Linked DNA regions of Homo sapiens: region 2 is linked to region 1. The links are contacts of gene promoters, found by promoter capture Hi-C in human tissues and cell types (Jung and others, 2019). All regions are on one chromosome and are shown on one strand. The core of a region is centred on a gene start or on the middle of the fragment in contact, and the rest is flanking DNA. Distances in the headings are between cores, read along the strand shown. Region 1 holds the start of KCNK6 (potassium two pore domain channel subfamily K member 6). Region 2 overlaps SIPA1L3 (signal induced proliferation associated 1 like 3).

What was found. Contacts are between HindIII fragments. The study calls those that stand out against the background at their distance.
Region 2: a fragment that was not itself captured here is called in contact with the fragment with the promoter of KCNK6 in region 1 in 1 of the 25 tissues and cell types used here (lymphoblastoid cells).

The regions. Positions count from the first base shown.
Region 1 is chr19:38,318,514-38,323,495 of GRCh38, reverse strand. It overlaps KCNK6 (potassium two pore domain channel subfamily K member 6), which reads right to left and starts at 3,651. Exons shown (of 3, transcript NM_004823.3): 1 at 3,224-3,651. The coding sequence starts at 3,545. It also overlaps a transcript of YIF1B not described here. RefSeq lists a silencer at 3,469-3,558 and an enhancer at 3,200-3,823. The HindIII fragment of the contact is 11,421 bases long and covers 1-4,982 here.
Region 2 is chr19:37,952,318-37,957,431 of GRCh38, reverse strand. All of the region lies in intron 1 of SIPA1L3 (signal induced proliferation associated 1 like 3), which reads right to left. Among named protein-coding and RNA genes, the nearest start is that of SIPA1L3, 48 kb to the right of the region's middle. The HindIII fragment of the contact is 6,266 bases long and covers 1-5,114 here.

The DNA of each region.
Region 1 (4,982 bases), core at 2,402-4,901:
ATTCCCAGTTCCGGGTAGGACTACCCGCTTCCTCCTGCCTCAAGTGCAGCAAGGCTGCCCAGATCAATTCCAGGGCCAAGATTTGGGCCTATGACCAAACGAGGGGCATTGTGGGAAGAGGTCTCTCTGAATCACGTTTAATTGGTTTTCCACTTCTCCAGATGCATTCAAGGCTTCACCCACTATGAAAACAGTCAACATTAACTCAATAAACATCAGTTATTACCAGCGCTTCGCACGGACAAAGACTCCCTCCTTGACCGCACTTCAGTCTGACTCCTGAGTCCTTAAGTAGGCCCAGTTTTAGCAAGAATCCTACAAGCCACCCACCCCGATATCTGATCAAATTCCTCATCCACCACTCTTTTTTGTTTGTTTGTTTTGAGACAGAGTCTTGCTCTAACGCCCAGCCTGGAGTGCAGGGGCGAGATCTCGGCTCACTGCAACCTCCGCCTCCCAGGTTCAAGTGATCCTCCTGCCTCAGCCTCCCAAGTAGCTGGGATTACAGCCACGCACTATCATGCCTGGCTAATTTTTGTATTTTTAGTAGAGATGGGGTTTCGTCATGTTGGCCAGGCTGGTCTCGAACTCCTAACCTCAGGTGATCCGCCCGCCTCAGCCTCCCAAAGTGCTGGGATTCCAGGCGTGAGCCAACTTGCCCGGCCTGTTTTTTGTTTTTTTGAGATGGAGTCTCACTCTGTTGCCCTGGCTGGAGTGCAGTGGCACAATCTCAGCTTATTGCAACCTCTGCCTCCCAGGTTCAAGTGATTCTCCTGCCTCAGCCTCCCGAGTAGCTGGAATTACAGGTGCCTGCCACAATGCTCGGTTGATTTTTGTATTTTTAGTAGACGGGGTTTCACCATGTTGGTCAGGCTGGTCTCGAACTCCTAACCTCAGGTGATCTGCCCACCTCGGCCCTCCAAAGTGCTGGGATTATAGGCGTAAGCCACTGCGCCTGGCCCTCATCCACCCCCTCTCAATATCTAAGTCCTTGGCCTGTCTTTAGCAAGAATCTTGTTAAGCTGAGTTTAGCAAGAATCCCCCTACCCGAATGTCTCTCCTCTTAGTATTCTTCCATCCACTGACTCCCTTATTCTACTTGTTAGCCATAAAACTCCAGCTGTGTTTGCTATATTCACAGTTGAGTTCAGTCTCTCTGGCCTTTGCAATGGTCTCTCCTCTACCACAATAACTTTCCATTTTTAACAAGTGTTAGCATATTTTTTTCTTTTACAACACACACAGCACCCTTCTTCTAAGTAGTGTGGTGTGTTGGCTAGCAGCATGGGACTCTAGAGCCTGATGGCCTTGACTAAATCTCTACTCTATGCCGTCTTTGCTGTGTGACCTTAGGAAAGTTACCCAACTTCTCTAGGCTTCGGTTTCCATGGCTAAAAATATACAGCCTATAAAGGCGCCTGCCTCACAAGGCTGTTGTGATGATTAAGTGAGTTAAAGCATGCATTGGCAAGTCCTCTGTCAGGCTACTGCTATTACAGGGAAATGGGGAGTGTTATTATCTCCATTTTAGCAATGGGGGAGGACACTGAGGCCTGGCAATGAGCCGCGGCTGAGCAGGGATGTAGCCAGGCTGTGCCTGACGTGTGTCTGGCTTCCCTCATCTGCCCTGCCAGGGATGACTTCTTAGAAGCCAGGATCTGGGAAGAGGTAGGAGGCGTGCACATGACCCAGGGAAGCTCAGAAGCAGGTCAGGCCGCCCTGGCAGCATGGGCAGACCCAGGGGAGGTCAGCTAACGAGAAGTCACCCAGCTCTGCTGCCAGGGGACCAAAAGCAAAAGCTGCCCCCTATTGTTGGCCGGGAGGGCGAGTTAGGAGTCTGGGCTAACCCTGCACCAGCCTCCTCTCCTCAACAAATCCCCAACAAAGAAACAAAGAGGAAGTCTGGGAGCTGAGAAGGGGCTGGGGGAGCAGCAGAGCCTGGCAACAAAGAGATTTCCCAAGTCTGGCTTCTCAGGGTTTCCCAAAACTCGGGGTCCCTCCACGGTGGGTCCTTTTGACACATCCCTAGCTGGGGCTGCTGAATTGGGAGTCCCAGGTCCAGAGGGAACAGGTGGTGTCCCTATTGGGAGGAAAATCCTGCATTGAGAGTGACCCCATATAGGGGAGATGTCAAGATGGGGTGGGGTACCTAGGGAAGGGTTTTGTGTCTGGGGTCAGAGTTGCCTGCTGGGGAGTATGGGGCCAGGAGACAGATGACAGTCTGGAGCAGAGGCCCAGGTCCAGAGGGCCAGGAGTCCCAGATGGCGGTGCCAGGTCCTTGCTGAGGAATCTCTGTTGGGAGGGAGGTCTTTAGTGAGGACACCCTGAGAGGTCTGGAGATTTAGGGTCCTCGCTAAGGCGCCAGGGTCAGGAGGAGGTTGAGATGGGGTTTCTCCAGGGGGGTTTCCCAGAAGGACATATCTGGAGGGTCAGGAGACATGGCAAGGGTGGCAGGCCCAGACTAGAGATAAAGTCAGGGGTCCTGGCATGGTTGAGTTCTGGGTCCAGAGGGGGCAAGGATCTCCCTTGGAGGGTGGCGTGTCCTGGGTCCTTGCTGGAGGTCTCTGAGGACAGTCCTAGGCTTAGAGGGGGCTGGACAGACCCGGGTCACCAAGAGGATTAAGACCGGGGAATGCAGTCCCAGTGCAGTGGCTCAAGCCTGTAATGCCAGCAATTTGGGAGGGCGAGGCGGGCTGATCACCTGAAGTCAGGAGTTTGGGACCAGCCTGGCCAACATGGTGAAACTCCGTCTCCACTGAAAATACAAAAATTAGCCAGGCATGGTGGTATGTGCCTGTAATCCCAGCTACTCGGCAGGCTGAAGCAGGAGAATAGCTTGAAACCGGGAGGCGGAGGCTGCCGTGATCCGAGATCGTGCCACTGCACTCCAGCCTGGGCGACAGAGTAAGCCCTGTCTCAAAAAAAGAAAAAGAAAAGAAAAAAAAAAAAGACCGAGGAACGGGGTCCCAGCTGGTCTCTGCAAAGGTACTCTGAGGGGAGCTGGGTGTTTCCTACTTAGGAGGAAGGGCTCGGACTTGGGCTCCCCGAGCAGAGCAGATATCATGAGCCTGGGTCCCGGGTCCTCACTGGGGTCTTTTCGGGGGATCCGAAGCCCAGAGGGGATTGGGATAAGGGTATTCGTGAGGGCCCCGGGGTCCCCAGGGGTTAAGGATGAAGTGGGGATCCCGGGTCCTCGCCGCCTTGCGGTGAGGCGCTTACGTACCCACGGTGGTGATCAGCGTGCTGGCGAAGAAGAGAGCAGAGGCGAAGTCCCAGGCGGGGTCCGAGGCGTTGGCGGACCCCGAAGCGTTAGCAAGCACGACCCGCCCCAGCCGTCCGGCCGCCAGCACTCGCTCCACGAAGGCGTCCAGGGCGGGGGCAGCCACACACGGGCTGCGCTGAAGCAGCTGCGCCCGCAGCGTCTCCAGCTCGGCTCGGAGCCTGGCTTCGTGCGGCCCCTCCAGCCGCGCCACCAACAGCGCGCCCAGCACCAGGTACGCGGCGTACGCGGCCAAGGCGCCCGCCAGAAGCGCGCCCCTCCGCATGGCACCCACCGGGACCCCGCGAGCCCTGGGTGGCCCCGCTGACGTGGCCCCCGCCTCCGGACCGTCTGGCACCTAGTTCCAGTTCCGGGAGTGCTACAGGCGCGGCAGCAGATGCCCCAAGAGGAAGAGGAAAAAGGGGAGGTGGGGGGCGGCGACGGAGGAATGCCCCGCCTCCGGGAAACTGAGGCACGCCCAACCGCCAGGTGTTCGTTCGGAGAGGGTGGAGCCCAGTGCTCCCAGACCCAGCAGACCAACGGGATGGAAAGGGTGGAGGTAGTCCTCTCTTCCCCTCATTCCTTCCTTCTCGTCCTCCTGGAAGGCTGGTTCTCTATGTTAGAAGAATCTGAACTTTCCTCTCTGCTCGCAGGCCGAGGAGTCGCCCCCCATCGCGCACAGCAGCTAAGGTTGTGCACTGCATCAGGGCGCGCGGCTGACGGAGCAAGGGGCAAACTGAAATCCAATTCTCGCTCCATTCGCCAAGTTGTGAGCCTCGGAGTGGGAACAGCGGACACCACAGAGTCAGGTGTCCCCTGTGCCCGTGTGGACAGAGTGGGGATCCTCAGCTACTCACCAAAGCTTTGTTCAATGCCCACTTTCTGCTGACCCCTCGCTGGATGATCCTGGAGACTCAGTAATGATGAGACCATCCTGCGCCATGCATTCATGGGGCTCCCAGTCTAACTGGGAGACTGACACAAGAGTGACCCACGCCTGTTGTCCCAGCTACTCGGGAGGCTGAGGTCGGAGGATTGCTTGAGCCCAGGAGTTCGAGGCTGCAGTGAGCTATGCCTGGGAGAGAGTGAGACCCTATCTCTAAAAAAAAGAAAAAAGACAGCCCAGAGTGGTCAGGGCTGTGATGAGGGAAGCAAGGGTACAATGATCAAGCCTGGAATCAGGGAGCCCTAGAGGGCCCTGGGAGTCCAGAGGAAGCAACCACCCCTGCCTAGGGAGGTCAAGAGAGCTTCCTGAGGAAGGGGCTAGCTGAGCTGAAGCATGAAGGATGAATGGAAACAAGCCAGGCAGAATCACAAATACACGCCTCTATTTAAGAGGAAATTTTTCTTTCTGCGCCCCCCCGTAAGTCTCTCCACTTCTGCCTCCAGCCAGAACTCAGCGCCTTCCTGACAGCCTTTTGGAGGGCAGCCCAGAGTCCTAACCCCATCCGACTGGCAGAGGAGTGGGGCTTGGGGCTCAGCTCAGACATGTCCCAGCTGGTTCTATTAAAGAGCTGGCAGATCACCGGGCAGAGCCCAACTTGGGGTTGACAATCCAGAAGCAGAGGCACCTGATAATAGAATCAGTAACACAATAGGTGCCAGTGATCGAAGGCTTACATTCTGCCAGGCCCTGTGGACACCTGAACTTGCACTGAATTCTCAACCCCGTCCCAATATAATTCCCACTAAACAGATGAGAAAATTTAGGCTTAAAAATGAA
Region 2 (5,114 bases), core at 1,571-4,070, 370 kb after region 1:
TCTAAATAAACAGAGAAGCATTCTTTGTACACAAACTGGAAGACTAAACATTAATATGGCAATTCTCACCATATTGACATGTAGAGTCAACACACAGTCTATCAAATCCCAGCAGGCTTTTGTGCAGATATTGACAAGGTGATCTGAAAACTTGTCAGTATGCAAAGGACCCACACAAGCCAAAACAATTTTGGAAAACAAAACAAGGTGAGGACTTAACACTTCCCGATTTCTAAAGTAACTTTAAAGCTACAGTAATGAAGACTGTGGCACTAGCAGTAGGATAGACATTTAAACCAATAGATCAGAAGAAACAAACCCTTATATTAATAATCAAATGACTTTTACCATAGTGCTACCTAATTCAGTGGAGGAAAATGGTCTTTTTTTCAACAAATGGAGCTGGGATAATTGGATATTAATACGCAAAAAGATAAATTTAGGCCCCTTATGTAATACACAAAAATGATATCAAAATTAATGATAGATTCAAAGGCAAGAGTTAAAAGTATGCAACTTCTAGGAGAAAACATGAAAGAAGAACTTCATGATACTGGGTCAAAGAGTTCTTAAATATAATACCAAAAGCACAATCCATAAAAGACTAATTGATAAACGGAATTTCCAAAATTAAAAACTTTTATATTAGGGTGGGCGTGGTGGCTCACACCTGTAATCCCAACACTTTGGGAGGCCAAGGTGGGCGGATCACTTGAGGTCAGGAGTTCAAGACCAGCCTGGCCAACATGGCGAAACCCCATCTCTACTAAAAATACAAAAATTAGCTGGGCATGGTGGCGTGTGCATGTAATCCCGGCTACTCAGGAGGCTGAGGCAGGAGAATTGCTTGAACCCGGGAGGCAGAGATTGCAGTGAGCCGAGATTGTGCCACTGCTCCAACCTGGGTGACAAGAGTGAGACTCAGTCTCAAAAAAAAAAAAAAACAAAACTTTTATACTTCCAAAGGCATGACTAAAAAAATAAAAATATTTTCTGGGAAAAAATATTTGCAAACTACATATCTGATGAGTGTTATCCAGAACATATCAAGAACTCTTACAACTCAATGAAATAACAAGATTAAGAAATAGGCAAACAATACAAATACATATTTCACCAAAGAAGATACACGAATGGCCAATAAGCACATAAAAAGATGATCAACAGCATTAGTCATCAGAGACATGCAAATCACAACTACAATGAGATACCACTGCACACCCACCAGGATGGCTGTAACAATAAGCGTTGGTGAGGATAAAGAAATACTGGACCCCAGCCAGGGGCGGTGGCACGCACCTGTGGTCCCAACTATTCAGGAGGCTGAAGCGGGAAAACAGCTTGAGCCCAGGAGTTTGATACTGTAGTGCGCCATGATCACGCCTGTGAATAGCCATTGTACTCCAGCCTGGACAACATCATGAGACCCTATCTATGAAAATGGCGCAGCCACTTTGGAAAACAATCTGGCAGTTTCTTAAAAACTTAAACAGAGTTACCAAATGACCCAGTAATTCCACTCCTGAGCAGAAATGAAAACATGTCCACACAAAGACCTGAACATAAATGTCTATAACAGCACTACTCATACTAGCCCAAACTGGAAACAATCCAAGTATCCATTAACGAATAATGGTAATGAAATTATCCATTCATGGTTAACGAATAAACAAAATGTGGTTTACCCATACAATAGAATATTATTCAGCAATAAGAACAAATGAACGACTGATATGAGCTATCACCTGGAGGAAGCGCAGAAACATTATGCTAAGTGACGGAAGCCTGGTACAGAAAAGACTACATACTGTATGACTGCATGTATTTGAAATGTTCAGGAAACGCAAATCTACAGAGACAAAGAGCAGGTTAGTGGTAGCCTGGGCCTAGGCGTGGAAGCAAGGACTGCCTGCAAAGAGGTACAAGATGGATATCTTTTGGGGTGGTGGTAATATTCTAAAACTGGATTGTGGTGATAGTTATGCAGCTTCACAAATTTACCAAAAACAGCTGAATTGCATACTCTTTTTTTTTTTTTTTGAGACAGAGTTTTGCTCTTGTTGCCCAGGCTGGAATGCAATGGTGCGATCTTGGCTCACGGCAACCTCCGCCTCCTAGGTTCAAGCGATTCTCCTGCCTCAGCCTCCTGAGTAGCGGGGATTACAGGCATGTGCCAACACACCTGGCTAATTTTGTATTTTTAGTAGAGACGGGGTTTCTCCATGTTGGTCAGGCTGGTCTCAAACTCTCGACCTCAGGTGATCTACCCACCTCGGCCTGCCAAAGTGCTAGGATTACAGGTGTGAGCCACCATGCCTGGCCTTTTTTTTTTTTTTTTTTTTTGAGAGACAGCATCTCACTCTGTCACCCAGGCTGGAGTGCAGTGGTGTGATCCCGGCTCACTGCAACCCCCGCCTCCTGTGTTCAAGCAATCCTCGTGCTTCAGCTACCCAAGTACCTGGGACTACAGGCATGCACCACAATGCCTGGCTAATTTTTGTATTTTTAGTAGAGACAGGGTTTCACCATGTTGTCCTTGCTGGTCTCGAACTCCTGGCCTCAAGAGATCTGCCTGCCTTGGCCTCCCAAAGTACTGGGATTACAGGCATAAGCCACTGCGCCCAGCCTGAATTGCATATTCTGAATGGGTGACTTTTATGGCACGTGTGTATATATACACACATACAGGCGGTGGTGGTGACAACTTCTGTAACCTAATCACCTCTGGACTTCCCACTCCATATGAAACCGCCTGGTTCTTAAAGCCGAGAGGCTTCACGCTTGGATGTGCTTATCACTAGGGGTTTACGGAAACTTAACAGATACAGGAGTATCTTGAAAACAGTGTTTTCAAGGGAAGCAATGTTCAGATCCTCAACATCCACAAGTTCCTCTTCCTAAAACTGATCTGGCTGCAAACCAGCCTGTCTCCTTCCCCACTGCCCACCCGCTGTTGTGCACTCCCCCATTTTCCCAAGGAGCACGACCGAGAGGTGTGTAAACCTCCAGGACTCCAAACACACAACATCAATATTGGTTTCGGGGAAGTAGCCTTTAGTGAACAATAAAAAGCTACTTAAACCCCCAGACTTGCCTGTCTTTCCCTGACTTAAGTATCTTTCTGCCAAACATGAAACTGGGCTTTAAAAATAGGATTTTCTGAACCATAGTAGGATCATGAATGTCAAAGCAGTATAGGTTAGTGGCTCTGATTTGTTCAAAGGGAACATTTTTCAGGACCACTGAATTTTTCTAGATCCACCAAGAAAAAATTCCCAGGGAAAAATTTACATGATTGCTTTCAGCTTCTGTGTACTTTACTCAATAAGGTAGTAAAAACTTTTTTTTATCTAACCACATCATAAAATATTTCAATTACATTCGACCTTCAAAATGTGTACTATTTTCTTCTCCCACAAATAAGACAAATTTAAAGTTACCATAAGCTTATTTTAGATGTTAGCTTTACAGTGTACAAGGAGGTATACAGGGGCTTATCAAAATTCTTTTGGGGAGGATGCAAGCAAAAATGTTTAACGATGATCAGATTAAATTTGAATAATCCTGGCTAACCCATGCCCTAATTCCTGGTGGCTGAGCTGTAGGAACTCAGCATGGGGCACAAATTCTGGGGAAAGCAAGATTTCAGACAATGGCAAAATCACACGTGCCTGGGGGTACAGCCAGCAGCGAGGAGTCAGTCAGGCCTCACAGCCCCTTCTTTCCCAGCTTTCAGGGGCCTCAAAAGCAAAGCTGCTCAAGGGAAGATTTGAAAAGGGATTTTCTGAACCGATAGGTCAATTCAAAAGATTTCCTTTCATTCGAGTAAAAGGGCTTTCGCCCCTCCTTCACCTCAAGTAAGTTTGGCACGCATGCACACACATACACACACACACACATGAGGAATGCATTCACCTTAAATTACCTTGAACTAAGTCAGTGATTACCCTCTTGAATATTTCCCACTATTAGCAAAATTCCTCCTAAGAGCAGACTTTGTTCCGAATTGGTCATGAACTCTATCCAGCTCTTTCCAAAGTTACCTGGGGAGGTACACACTGGGTCAACCATTATCCTAATAAAGTGCACAGATCTGACCAAATTCCTCCTGAAACATGATGCGATACGCCAGGTTTAGCGGCCAGTGTGCAAGGCTGGGTCATGGGCAGGAAAGGAATGTTTTTTTCCAAAGAGGAAAAAAACTGCAGACTTAAACTCTACTTTCATTCATTTGAGAAGGATCCTGGGCCCCCTCTATGGATAGGATTGTAAGCTGAGAATGCGGGTTCACGCCATTCTCCTGCCTCAGCCTCCTGAGTAGCTGGGACTACAGGCCTCCGCCACCACGCCTGGCTAATTGTTTTTGTATTTTTAGTACAGACGGAGTTTCACCATGTTAGCCAGGATCTCCCGACCTTGTAATCCACCCACCTCGGCCTCCCAAAGTGCTGGGATTACAGGCGTGAGCCACCGTGCCCGGCCAAGAATCCTCTGTGCATACACACACTCTGAAGTGTATGCAATCACCCAGGATGGTGTTCAAAATGCAGATACCCAGGCCTCAGGCCCCAAACCAGAATCTCCAGCAATGTGGAACAGAGCTGCTGTATTTTAACAAGTTCCCCAGGCCAGTCTGTTGATCACATAAAGCTAAGAACCGCCACTCAGGAAAGTCTAGCAAAGTGGTTCTCAAATATCTGATTCATACAAATCATTTCTGGAGAATTATTTATTTATTTTTATATTTTATTTTATTTTTGAGACAGAGTCTCACTCTGTTCCTCAGGCTGGAGTGCAATGGCACGATCTTGGCTCACTGCAACCTTCACCACCCGGGTTCAAGGAATTCTCCTGCCTCAGCCCCCTGAGTAGCTGGGATTACAGGTGCCTGCCACCACACCTGGCTAGTTTTTGCATTTTTAGTAAAGACAGGGTTTCACCATGTTGGCCAGGCTGGTTTTGAACTCCTGGCCTCAAGTGATCTACCCACCTCGGCATCCCAAAGTGCTAGGATTACAGGCATGAGCCACTGCGCCTGGCAGAGAATTTTTTAAATTTAAATATAGATTCTAGGGTCCACTAAAATTACTGTATTACTTAGGACTCTTTCGGTT